Regions from separate parts of the Homo sapiens genome. Here region 2 is linked to region 1. The links are contacts of gene promoters, found by promoter capture Hi-C in human tissues and cell types (Jung and others, 2019). All regions are on one chromosome and are shown on one strand. The core of a region is centred on a gene start or on the middle of the fragment in contact, and the rest is flanking DNA. Distances in the headings are between cores, read along the strand shown. Region 1 holds the start of TMEM154 (transmembrane protein 154). Region 2 overlaps FHIP1A (FHF complex subunit HOOK interacting protein 1A).

The links. The method cuts DNA at HindIII sites, captures the fragments that hold promoters and counts their contacts. A contact is called where the count stands out against the background at its distance.
Region 2: a fragment that was not itself captured here is called in contact with the fragment with the promoter of TMEM154 in region 1 in 1 of the 25 tissues and cell types used here (aorta).

Annotation. Positions count from the first base shown.
Region 1 is chr4:152,676,486-152,682,693 of GRCh38, reverse strand. TMEM154 (transmembrane protein 154) reads left to right here and starts at 2,697. Exons shown (of 7, transcript NM_152680.3): 1 at 2,697-2,824. The coding sequence starts at 2,761. It overlaps LOC105377495 (a long non-coding RNA gene), which reads right to left and starts at 2,609. Exons shown (of 4, transcript XR_939359.3): 1 at 2,390-2,609; 2 at 2,021-2,107; 3 at 1,554-1,619; 4 at 1,032-1,331. RefSeq lists enhancers at 2,614-2,923, 2,234-3,063, 6,131-6,208. The HindIII fragment of the contact is 4,840 bases long and covers 1-4,368 here.
Region 2 is chr4:151,616,579-151,622,786 of GRCh38, reverse strand. All of the region lies in intron 7 of FHIP1A (FHF complex subunit HOOK interacting protein 1A), which reads right to left. Among named protein-coding and RNA genes, the nearest start is that of GATB, 140 kb to the left of the region's middle. The HindIII fragment of the contact is 5,758 bases long and covers 1-5,304 here.

The sequences.
Region 1 (6,208 bases), core at 1,448-3,947:
TGCTCATTTAGTCTTCATTTATTTCCACCATGTGCATGAATGTGTGTGTGAGAGACAGCTGTGTGTGTATCTGAGTGCATGTGCACATCTGTGTGTATTGGGAATGGCAGGATCGGAGTGTGAAGAGGAACGCGGAGAAGGCTGTCTGCACCCACTGGAAGATCCTATCATTTATCTGGATTTGTTCCCTTGGAGTCCCTCTTCTTTTATGGCCCATGGAGTGGTGGTGGGGAGGGGGCGGGGGGAAGGGAGGGAGGATAGGATGAGAGTCACTTCTGTAGCACAGACAGTTGATTGTAAAAGTCACACTCCTTTGTGTAAAGTAATAAAGAGTCCCTAGACATGGTTCCCAGTGTCCCTTCCTGCCCTTCTGAACATGATGAAGCACCATACTTCTTTCCTGCTTTCAGACAGCCAATGGCAGGCTCCAAAGTGGCATTACCCCTGCCTGTGTGCCACTCACTCTGAGGTTCCCCTGTGCCCCACATCTGGGACTGAGGCCCTGACTTCCTGCCACCAGTGCATCGGGATTTAATCTGAGGCTGGGTGGCTATTTGCCTAAATTAATGGTTGCTAAAATTAAAACAGAGGTAAATAGCCCTTTACCTACCACACAGCCTCCCTGGGATTTTAACTGCAGCAAAGAGATCATTGAGGTGCTACCATTTTCTGATCAATCATGGTAATTTTCTTCCCCCTAAGATCAGCTTAATCATGCTAAGGGTCTTAGAGAGCACAGGGGTCAAAAGAAAATTACATGGTTGGGCAGGATTTCTCTGCAGCTCCAGTTTATTTTGTACCTCACTCTGATTTAGTGTTGCACTGCTCAGAAGCAATGCATAGTGCACTTGTTGAAACAGTAATGAACTGTTTGGCCATGTCATGGGGCTCAGCAGAGGTCCACAGAATAAGACAGTCTGTGGTCCAATCCACAGACACCTGACTGCAAAAGCTTCCACAGGGAGCTGAAGTTTAAGATGAAAGAAACGAAGGCTGACAACCTTGCCCTTGACAAACATTTGCCTCCAGCCTGGGATTCAACAATGTTTTAATAACATTTAATAATATTTTAATAGGGCATAAATGGTAAAATGGAGAGAACTCCCAAGCCCTGGGCCTGCTTTCTTGCACGTGTGTGTCACAGCTGCAGAAACACGTGCTTGTACAGGAATAATTGCCACCCCAACTCAGTACCAGCAGGTCTTGGAGCCCGTGATCTATTCACATGCTCAGCAAGTGTTTAATTAATAGTTCTTTCTCTGTTGTTTTCAAATCAATCACCCAGTTTTGAGCACGTCTATTTTCTCCTGCTGTTTGTTCTGTATTGTCACCTGTGGTGCAAAAAGCATATTTTATCAAGAATTGACTTAATTGCCAGTTTAAAACATTAAAGTGCATACTGTAAATCCATTAACAAACTGATCCTTACATGAATCACCAACCTATTTCTTGTGAATAATAACTGAGATAAACAGTGACTAATGACATTGAAAAGCAGCAATGCATTAAAGAAAAATTAACAGCTATGTCAGGGGCTAAGGAATTCCAGTCACCTCATACGTTTGCACCAACCAGATCACTGAAGACAAACGACGGGAAGTCATGACTCAGATGGTGATCTGCAGGGAAAGGTTTAGAGATGAGATGTGTCTGATGCCTCAACACTACCCCTCTCTCCATCTGTCTGTCTCTCTTGGCACCACGATTATGAAACTGCATTCTGAATGCTTAGGCCCTAAACCTAAACCAAGGGAAGGACCTCCAATAGAACACCCAACACACACTAATCTCCACTGTATACTAGACACAACCTTTCTGTATTGTTTCGATTGGATAGGATTTCTACCATTATTCTATTTCGTTTCTGTCCTGTTTTGTTTGTTGTCTGAGAACTTGATTGTCAAGTAAGAAGGAAGGAAGGTGAGATGCAGATTCACCCCTACCTCCACCCTCAGAGCATATTCTCCTTTGGAAATGGACCTTGAAAAGATCATTTCTCTCTGGGGAAGCAGAACATAACCTTAAGGTGTGGGTGTGGCATCCACCTCCATCTGGCGTGGGCCTTGGTGGGAGGAGGGCATTCCAGAGTGGAGAAAGGAGAATGGACCTGGCGGAGAGAAGTGGTCTGGCAGTTTTCTGATGATGCAGTTGTCCCTGCTGTCTGGGCCTGCGCTATCCAACACAGCAGCCACTAGCCACTTGGAGTTATTAAAATTTTATAAAAATTCAATAAAATTTAAATTCCATCAGCACTAGCCTCAGTTCAAATGCTCAGTGGCCAATGTGGCTGATACTGTATCAGACGGCGCAGACTTGGAACATTTCCATCAGGGCAGAAAGTTCTACAGGACAGCTTCTTCCTAGGGTCTAGGCAGCCCCGGAGCCTCACCTGGGGGATAAGCAAAATCACAGAGTGAGAATGCGTGTGGTCCAGGACCCCTCCCAGTCCCAGATACCGAACGACATCTGAGCAAGGGACTCTGTTGCCCCGGGGACGGTTTCAAAAGCTGGAGGCCGGGACTCCAAAGGGCTGGAGAGGCGTGATAATAGAACCAGTGCTTCAACAGCAACTTCTCTTTTGCAATCCTTGCTGGTCTGACAGGCTCCTGCAGAATTACATCACTTCCTAAAAAACAGGCACACACCTCTCCTTCAAGTCAGCACCGACCCAAACAAGCAGGAAACAGGAAATGTTCACGTTTCAGAGAGGCTGCAGCCCGGCGCAGCATCCTGAGCGCGCCTCTGCCGAGGCGAGCGGACATGCAGGCTCCCCGCGCAGCCCTAGTCTTCGCCCTGGTGATCGCGCTCGTTCCCGTCGGCCGGGGTAAGCCGCCTCCACTTCCTACTCCTGGGAAGGAGGATCGCAAAAGCTGGTAGGGTGCCCGAGGCTACAGAACTCTGCCGGGGAGGGTGACACCCAGAAAATCTAATCCTTTCTGTGAAAGAAGTGGAGAAAATTAGAACTCCTTTTTTTGGGGGGTGGGATGGAGAGGGGACTTCGCTTTCGCTGCAGCTGTCTAAACTGGCTACAGCTCTCACTTCATTTAACCCTCTTTCAGTCTTTGTCTTCCAGGAAGTGTGCGTCCCTGTAATTTACCAGCTTTAATGGGCATATTAAGAAAACCATAAACTTTTTGGCAGTTTATGTAAAAAAAAACAAAAGCTTCAATTGGCTGAAACAGAGACATGATTAATTTGCTTTTTATGGTGTGGGCTGAGAAGTCTGCTGATTCCAAAATCTCCTGGAAAAACTGGGGTGTGAAAATTTACTACTAGAAAGCATACTAAAGAAACGACATAAACTTAAAAAAAAAAAAAGGAAACGGGAAATTATCCGAAGAGCTACCAAAGAGCTATGTGTTAGAGGGTAGCCCTCTAACACATCAAGTAAGGTCTTTCATCTACTTTTATTGCACCTTGTTACTTTTACAGATTTTTTTTTTGCATTGATTGTTACTAATGAAGATTTGTTTGAAAAAGTAATATGATTGGAACCAATCAAAGGTATTGGAAAAAACAATATTGAATCTCATTATTATGGGCTAAAAGCAACAACTGATTTACACCCTTGCCAGTTGCTACAACAAGCACAAGCACCTTCAGCTGCCTCTCTTGTTGACTTGCCTTTGGGCAAATACACTGGCTGCCCATTGTTTCTGTCAATGAACACCGACTGCTTCTAGTGTAGGGCAGTATTTACCAAGCAAAAGGAAAGTTCTCAAGCTACAGTTCTTTAGATAGAATGAGGGACATCAGCCCCAACCTAACAGATGTGACAACTTCCTGGAGGTCAGCAGCCAGCACCCAGCCACCCCACTCCATCAATTTCTCTTCCCCTGGGTGTTCTCCATGTGGTCCCCCAGGCATCTGAGGTAGAAAACAAAGTGGAAGGCAAATCATTCCAGCTGAAAAGATGTCTGGTTAAATTGAGTTTAGTGTTCAGAGTGGGTTTGGAAGTTGATGTGTTGTTTTATGCCCAGTGTTTTGGAGCTGGAAGGGAACTTGAAGATGATGCAGCTCAAACCATATTGGGCACACAGGTGAAGAAACAGAGGTGGAAGAAGGGAGATGTCTGGGTCTTGCTGCTAGTCAGCTCTTCTGGCTTCTACTCCAGAGTTCTTTGAGCTCCTCCACCCCCCACCACCACTGCCCCCCTCCCCCCACCGCCGCCCCGGAACCAATCACTGTCTCTGCCAAGAGCTCTGGAACCTTTCGTAGTAGGACATCAGGGAAGAAAAGCCTAGCCATCCTCCTTCCACCTCTTCTATTGCACAACACTGCCACAGGTGCCTCAAACACTCCCTTAATACTAATTCATCTTGCCTGAACTTTTTTTTTAGCTTCTAAAAAATGATTGAGTCCTAGTGTCTGCAATTCAGGAGATGCAAAAAGAGAATCTGAAGAGACTTGGTTAAAGTTGCCTTTCTGACACCTGAATCTGATCGTGCACATCTTCCCCCTTAAGGACCCCTCATTTATGCCCCTTCACTTGTTCCTCATTTTTGCCCCTTAGACTCTCACTGCAACCTCCTTCCCAGTGGCACCTCCTTCCAGTTGTCGTCCCCCTCCGTGGCTCTTGCCTATAATGAATACATTCTTTTTCCTACCTAGCAAATTCTTGTATCACCTTAAAAGTATCAAACTAAATGTGATCTCCTCCTTGATGTCTCCTTTCTCTGCCCCTTCCCTGGAGCTCTACTCGTACCTGCTGCTGTGCCCCGATAGACCTAAACTTCTGCTAATCACTTTGAACCATAATTGTGTCCATGCCTCCCAACTGGCTGTGAACAGCTCCAGGGAAAATCCTCTGTAGTTCACCTTTGACTTTCCAAAATCCTGTAAGGGCTCAGCATAAATGAGAAAATAATTGTTGATAAATATGAAAATCATCCCTAGAATGGATATGAGGCTGATTACAAAAAAAACTGATAGCTCCTGAAAACAGGTAGTGTTGGAATGTAAAGAGAAGTCAAAGATGAAAAGTTGCATTTCAGTAGAGTGCAGGGATTACCTAAATAATCCAACATGCTAATTGGGCCCTGCTGGGATTCCCAATGTCTGAAAAATGCCCACTTGCAAAAAGCTGTTGAATAAAAGCTATGACTTTGAGATGATTCATCATGGAAAAGGTGATTTTAAATTAAAGATTTTTAAAATTAATTAATGTACACTACTTTTAGCTAATAGTGCCTAAGGCTTCAGGATATGAGTTACTTTCTAGGTGTCACAGGTATATTTCCTTGAATTCTTCAAAAAATACCTGGGGATGTTTGTTAGATGAATCCAACCTACTGAAGGGCCTGACACTGTTTGTGAGTATACTCTGAGATGTATCTCAAATTAAGCCTTTATTAACAACGAGCAGGCAACATGAGATAATATCTGCAGTTGCATGAGACCAGCACTGTTACCTCTGAGTCAGCGACCTCTTCTCTTTTTAGAGATAGATAGCCTGACATAGAATTGAGTTCTACCCCAAGAGAAATAATTCACTTGGAAGTCACCAGGAGAGAAATAAGAAAGCAGCTTTTCTGGGACTATAATGGAATGGGTGAGCATAGTTAAAGGAAAGCTTGGGCCTAGGTGCCTTGGCCAGTGTAGGATCCTAAGAAAGTTCAAACTCAAGGAGATGTTCTGCTCATGGAGTAAAGTGGGGCAGGGGTGTCCCCGTCTCTGTTCTTTATGCCCTGTCAGTGTCAGCTTAATACTATCAGAAAACCAAAAGCAATTTCCTAAATACCAAAAGCATGGGATTTGTTAGTTGCTAAAAGCAGAATTGTTGCAGAAGGGAGAGCTGAAGGCCATGAGGCAGAAACAAGGATGCTGTGACTGTTTTGGTGGCCAAACAGAGAGGAATGGGAGATTTTCTGGGCTGGTTCAGAAGAATAAGAATTATATAAGTATTGGATGAATCTTGACAAGGAGAGAAAGAATAGTAGAAAATACTAGCTATGTAAGTAAGGCTACACATTCTGACACTGTGGTATCTCATATCTTATTTTAATGAACACGGCTGACATCTGCTGTTTCCTGGGACAGTCCCAATTTCAAGTATTAATAACAATAGTAGCTAACATATATAGAACTCATTATAGGTCAGGCACTATTCTAAATGCTACATTCACTAACTCATTTAATTCTCAGAACAACCTTATAAGGTGGGCACTATTATCCCTGTTTTTACATTTGAGAAAACTGAGGCACAGAG
Region 2 (6,208 bases), core at 1,176-3,675, 1.1 Mb after region 1:
CTCAGAAACAAAGATCTGAGGGGTATTCCAAAGATCACTTGGTTCTTCTCTTTCTTGTTTACTAATTGTTCCACAGAGTCCTTTTTTGATTCAAACTTCTTGGTTACAATTTAAGAAACAATAAAAACAACATCACTGACCAGTTACTGAGCACCGAGTATGCAACTAAGGACTATTCGAAGCATATTGTTTCAGTTATTTGAGTCCCAACAATCTTATGAGAACTAACTCCAGATGGTCCAAGCAGAAAAGATACTTACTGAAGGGGTGTCTCACAGAATCACCAGAAGGCTGGAGAGACAGGCTTAGAAAGAAAAAGAGGTCTGGTGCTGGGCTGCCAAAACACAGACACCCACGACACCCTTCTTTCAAATTCAAACAGAGATTACACGGCTTCTTTCAGCAACACAGCTTAGTCGAGGCTCATAATCTTTTGCATCAGAAGAAAGTACTCCTCATTATAAAGGGAGATTCCACCTGCTGTAATTTAAATTGTACCTTACCCTGCCCTCATCTTAATAAGTGGTGATGGAGAAATGCTGTCCCCCCAAAACTCAACTTTCCTATTCCAGAATTCTTATTAAACCTCTCAGACTCCCCTTTTCTAGGCTGTCAGTTCCCCTTCTCAGTTTTCATAATACACATATTCATCCTTTAAGATTGCAAACTTACTGCAGAAATGACTACAACTGACCTGCAACATGAATTCTCAAAGGACCTGATGCACCACCAGGTACTCAGAGTAATCAATAAATGTGTCAAGATGGAAATCAGCAGCCCTGTTACTAATAAAAACACTGGATTTCCAACAGCCCATGTTGGGGATGCCTTCCTTAGCAGGGTAGTTATATTAATTTTACAATGCCTGAACAGCAGGGGAAATTTTCCATTTATAGTGAATAACATTTCATTGAAAATGCAGAGCGTAACTCATTCCATGCTCTTCAATTATGGCAACCTCGAAAAGTGATCCACTGGAAAAAAAAAAAAAGAAATGCTTCCTCAGGCTTCTCCCTATTTATCTTCCTGATTAATAAGACAATACTACTGAATGCTGATGAGACTGACTTTAAAACCCACAGTAGAGGGGAAATGGTCCATGGGCCAGAACCCCAACCAGCAGCTTCTCTAGAATGAAGTATCTGAGAACCACTGCAAAAACGCAGCATCTAATGCCTGCCATTCCATTCCACGCAACCCCCCCAACTCCTCCCCCACGCACCCCCCACCACCCCCTGCCACACACACACAATCTCCCTGATGGGTTAAATGTATCATTCGGCAGTGGAATTTAAGTTTAGACCAATTTTCCTAGACACTCAAACTGTAACAAAGTAACAAAGCAAGCTCTGATGATAAAAGACAGATTTCACTCCTAGCTTATTTTCCATGAGCACCGGAAAGACCTCAATACAATGGGAAGGCAGAAAACACACACATATCTGCCCAAACAAATTCAATAATTGCAGTTATTCTGTTCGTTTCTCTCTGTTGTCCCAGACCTGCACATCATCTGGCACTGGATAATCACAGAGGAGCATCCCATCAGAATGATTCCTGCTTTACCTCACCTGAAACGCAAGTCAGACACAAAAATGAGGGGACAGCAAGCCCTCAAAAAAAACTTAGTGTGCGGTGAGAGAAAATTTAGCAAGAAGATAAAATAAACAGACTAAACTCCTTCTCTGTTTTCCTTGCTTTTTGGTTTTCTTACTTGAAGAAAATCTTGCAGGGCCTTTGTTGCTGATAAATTTTTAATGTTCTCTTAGGATAGTGCAGGGAAAGAATAAAAGATTCACACCAACTTTCAGACCAGATCTTCCCTCCACTCTCTGCATTTGTTTCCAAGATGAATACCACCTGGCTGCCTTAGATAAGGTGGGGTTTTGTGTGGGGTTTTTTTTTTTTATTCTCGGTGTGTAGGGAGGGTGGGACCCTTTCTATCTTTTCATAATTCTGATGCTTAAGAACCCAATCGTTTGGTACCATTATCTCCCTCATGCACTTGTTGAAGTTAAAAAAAAAAAAAGATATCTAATTTTCCATTTCAAATCAGAGATCAATGTAAGCTTAATTTATAATGCTAATTTCCTTTCCTACAATGGAAGAGAAGTAATGGAGAGGTCAGGGATGAGGAGACTCTGTAGGACCTGTAGATCTACTCAGCCTCTGAAAATTTACTCTGTGCCTATTTGTGATAAGACAATGCATACAGTTTTGTCAGCTAACTTCTATTATTTTAAAAATATAAAACCAGGCAAGAAGAGCTATACTAGAAGAAGGGACAGAATCAGGTATGTCAGGGTCAAATGCTTAAGACGACCTCTAGGCTAGTTGAGACTGGCCTCTGAGCCACAGCCAGCCCATATAGGGCATTTCTGCAAATTAGAAATAGATCTCTTTGGGCAAAGTAGCCCCCCAAGCCCACAGTTTGGTAAGCAGATGGCTTGGCCAGAGAAGAAGGTGTCTTCTGCCAATTAGAGAAGGGTGCCTCTTCCTGTGGGTGGACACAGCCCCATGCCAGGACACAAAGTCTGGCAAATGGAACATGAACACCATCTCTCCTATCTGCACCCTCAGCAGGCTGCCCTTGTGCAGTAGACAACCTGCCCAACTCTATGCAGTGGCCCTGCAAAGCTTGTGCCTTTCCAATAATTATAATAATAGAAATTTCCAGTTTCCCATCAATGGAAATGAAATTTTGTTTACATGTAAGAAGCTTTGAGGTTTATGGCAGGCACTACTAAATGTCTCCCCAATATTTATTCTCCCTCTCTTCCTTGGGAATAAACCCTGACTTTATAATAAAAAACCACATTTCCCTGCTTCCTTTGCATCTAGATGTTACTATGTATGTTTTGGCTAGTGAGTTGTAAATAGAACTGGTGTGCAGAATATGAAAGGATCATTAAAGGGAGTTTTCTGTAATGTAAAGGGAGTTTTCTGTTATCCACAGCTAAACCTTAGGCACACCGATTCAGTGTTTTCTCTGAGTAAGAGAAATAAAATATGCTTTGTAAGTAAATTGCTATAGATATCTCAACCCCAGCAAACACTTAGAACAGTGCCTGGCATATATTGGGTGCTTAAAATATATATGTTGAATGAAATAATTAACAAATGAATGTTTTAGAACTGAAGAATACCAACTAACATTTATTCGCAGCCCATGATAAAGCAGAAATGTAACATCAAGTAACAAGTAATCTAGTAACATTCTCCCATTCAGTGTTTTCAAACTTTTTAACACTAAGACTCATCAAAATAAAAATATTTTACAATAATATCTAGTACTCACCATTACTAAGTGCAATGCACTCTGATATTTTCTATTTTATTCAACTTTAAATTGTGACCTACCAAATTGACTTCATGACTTACTCATGCAACAACTCAGTGTTTGAAATCTGTTTAAAAATATACACTAGACAGACTAACTTCTCTATTAGCTTTTCTGTTAACTAACCAATAAGAGACAACACTAACATTTAATTTTTTAAGTTAAAAACCAAAAATTGTTTTAATTTACTGGAAAAAAACAGTGGCACAAATGACCAAAACACTACTTATATTTTGTTTGCTATTTTTGTACAATAGTTAAATATGATCATGGATGTCTTGAGAAGTCTACAACATAAAGCAAGTAATAAGGCTGTCCTGGAAACCCCTCCCTGAGAGCTGGCTAGCTGACCTGTCCTTCTCAGGTATCAGCTCCCGCTTCCTGTTCCACTCTGGCACAGGGCAGCATCCTCTCTCAGCACTCATCAAAGCCAGGCCATCCTTTCTCCAATCTGGGGTTCATAACCTTCTACCCTGGGTGCTTAAGGTACTTGCATTAACCGATCTCTTTGCTGATCAGGGAATCACAAATGTGCTCCCTTTCTCAGCCAGGATTCTCTCAGGGTCTCCAGATGATAATTTAAAGAAGAGAAAAACATCATGGAGTAGTAGAAAATGGTCTGCAATGGGAATGAATATAAGACACTTGCATTTTAATTCTTAGCATCTGGTGACCATGGGCAAGTGAAGTAATATTCTGGTGTCCCAACTGCTACAAACGGAAAACAAGCCTGATGTCTCAGGCCTGCATACTATGTAATCTACCGCAGTGAGTTGACATGTGTCAATGAAGAAGGTAAACGATGAGATGTGAAGGCTTCTGTGAAAAGTGCCTTCCTCCACAGATTTTGGCGAGCACATAAAGAAGTGAGGATCTACAGGATAATAGAAAAGCACTTTGGAACACTTAGAGGACCCTCTAATGCAAACATAAAGCTACCACACAAACCTTGTAAACATAATCAAATATTAAAGAACTGAAAGATCATCTGCTTCATATCCTCTATTCCTCTCACAAATATTAAGCTCACAGACTCTGAACATTTCTTTCCAAATCATGAGCCTTTGTTTTCTCTGCTGTAAAATGATGATGAACTAGATGATCTACCCTCTCTGTTACAAAAGTCTGTCCCAAAGCATTCTTTGATTCCATGTCAGTGACATAAAACTAAGTGCTAATCTCAATTCTTTGCCCTGGTATTTTATTTTCCAGCATAACCAACACATCACTCTATTCTAATATAGTGATGAGTGCTAGCCACTTTCTTTTGACACATCTATTTAACCAACTGCATATATATTGAGTGTTTTCCAGCTGTACAATATACTAGCAGCTGAGGATACACAAAAGAAGTATAAGAAGCATTTATCCCTCAAAAAACTTCCAGCAATTGGCAGATAAAGCTCATTTGATGAACAAGTACTAAGCAGTGCAGTCCTATGTGAAAGTTCATTGGCAGTTTGGAGATAAGAGAAGTCAGCATATGCTTCAGTGCAAGGCTTCTGCCCACAGCAGTGCTTGTATTGAGACCTAACAGATGAATACACTTTTTCTTTTTTTTAAGACAGAGTCTCTCTCTGTCACCCAGGCTGGAGTGCAGTGGCGCAATCTCAGCTCACTGCAACCTCCACCTCCCGGTTTCAAGTGATTCTTGTGCCTCAGCCTCCTGAGTAGCTGGGATTACAGGCACACGCCACCATGCCTGGCTAATTTTTGTATTTTTAGTAGAGATGGGGTTTCACCATGTCAGCCAGGCTGGTCTTGAACTCCTGACCTCAAGTGATCCCCCCACCTCAGCCTCCCAAAGTGCTGGGATTACAGGCATGAGCCACCGCGCCTGGCCCAGATGAGTACACTTTGGATGAACAGGCAAGGAATGGAAAGGATAATCCAGCAGGAACACGGGAGCAAGAATGAACTGTTCAGAGGATGATGAGGGCACTGATCAGACTTTACATCTGCATTTGAACATCATGAAGGGAAGGAAGGCTCATAGGCAGGATGGGGCCACATCAGGAGAGGTTTTCAAAACCAGGTTAAGGACTCTGGATTATCTTCTGCAGGTCACAGGGACCATGATAGGTTCTTAGTGATCGGAGTGACATTTAAACCACTCCAATTTGTTTTTTTTTTTAAGTATGAATTACTACTTCCAAATTCGCTAGAACTTAGTTTGAATTTATGCAGACATGATACAGTAAAATGAAGTCTCCAATCCTCATGTGTCCTCCCACATGCAGAATCTCCTAGCAGCGTACTTCTGGCCTCTCTCTGACTCCCCATATAATTCTTCTCCAGGAAAGGAGGAGTAACTTGTCATTTTGTTGAGCTTGGGATTGAGCCTGTCCCTTCCTCTCTTCTCCTGGGAGCCAGGCTTCTAGCAGAAAGTACATATTCAGGGGAGGGCACAGAGGCTTACACCTGTAATCACAGCACTTTGGGAGGCTGAGGCGGGCAGAGTACTTGAGGTCAGGAGTTCAAGGCTAGCCTGGCCTACATGGTGAAACTCCATCCCTACTAAAAATACAAAAATTAGCTGGGTGTGGTGGCCCGTGTCTATAGTTCCAGCTACTAGGGAGGCTGAAGCAGAATGATCACTGGAACCCAGGAGATGGAGGTTGCAGTGAGCCAATATTGTGCCACTGCACTCCAGCCTGGGCAACAGAGTGAGACTCTGTCTCAAAAAAAGAAAGTACTGGCCAGGCGTGGTGGCTCATGCCTGTAATCCCAGCACTTTGGGAGGCTGAGGTGGGTGGATCATGAGGTCAGGAGATTGAGACCATCCTGGCTAACACGGTGAAACCCCGCCTCCACTAAAAATACAAAAAAAATTAGCCAGGTGTGGTGGCGGGCACCTGTAGTTCCAGG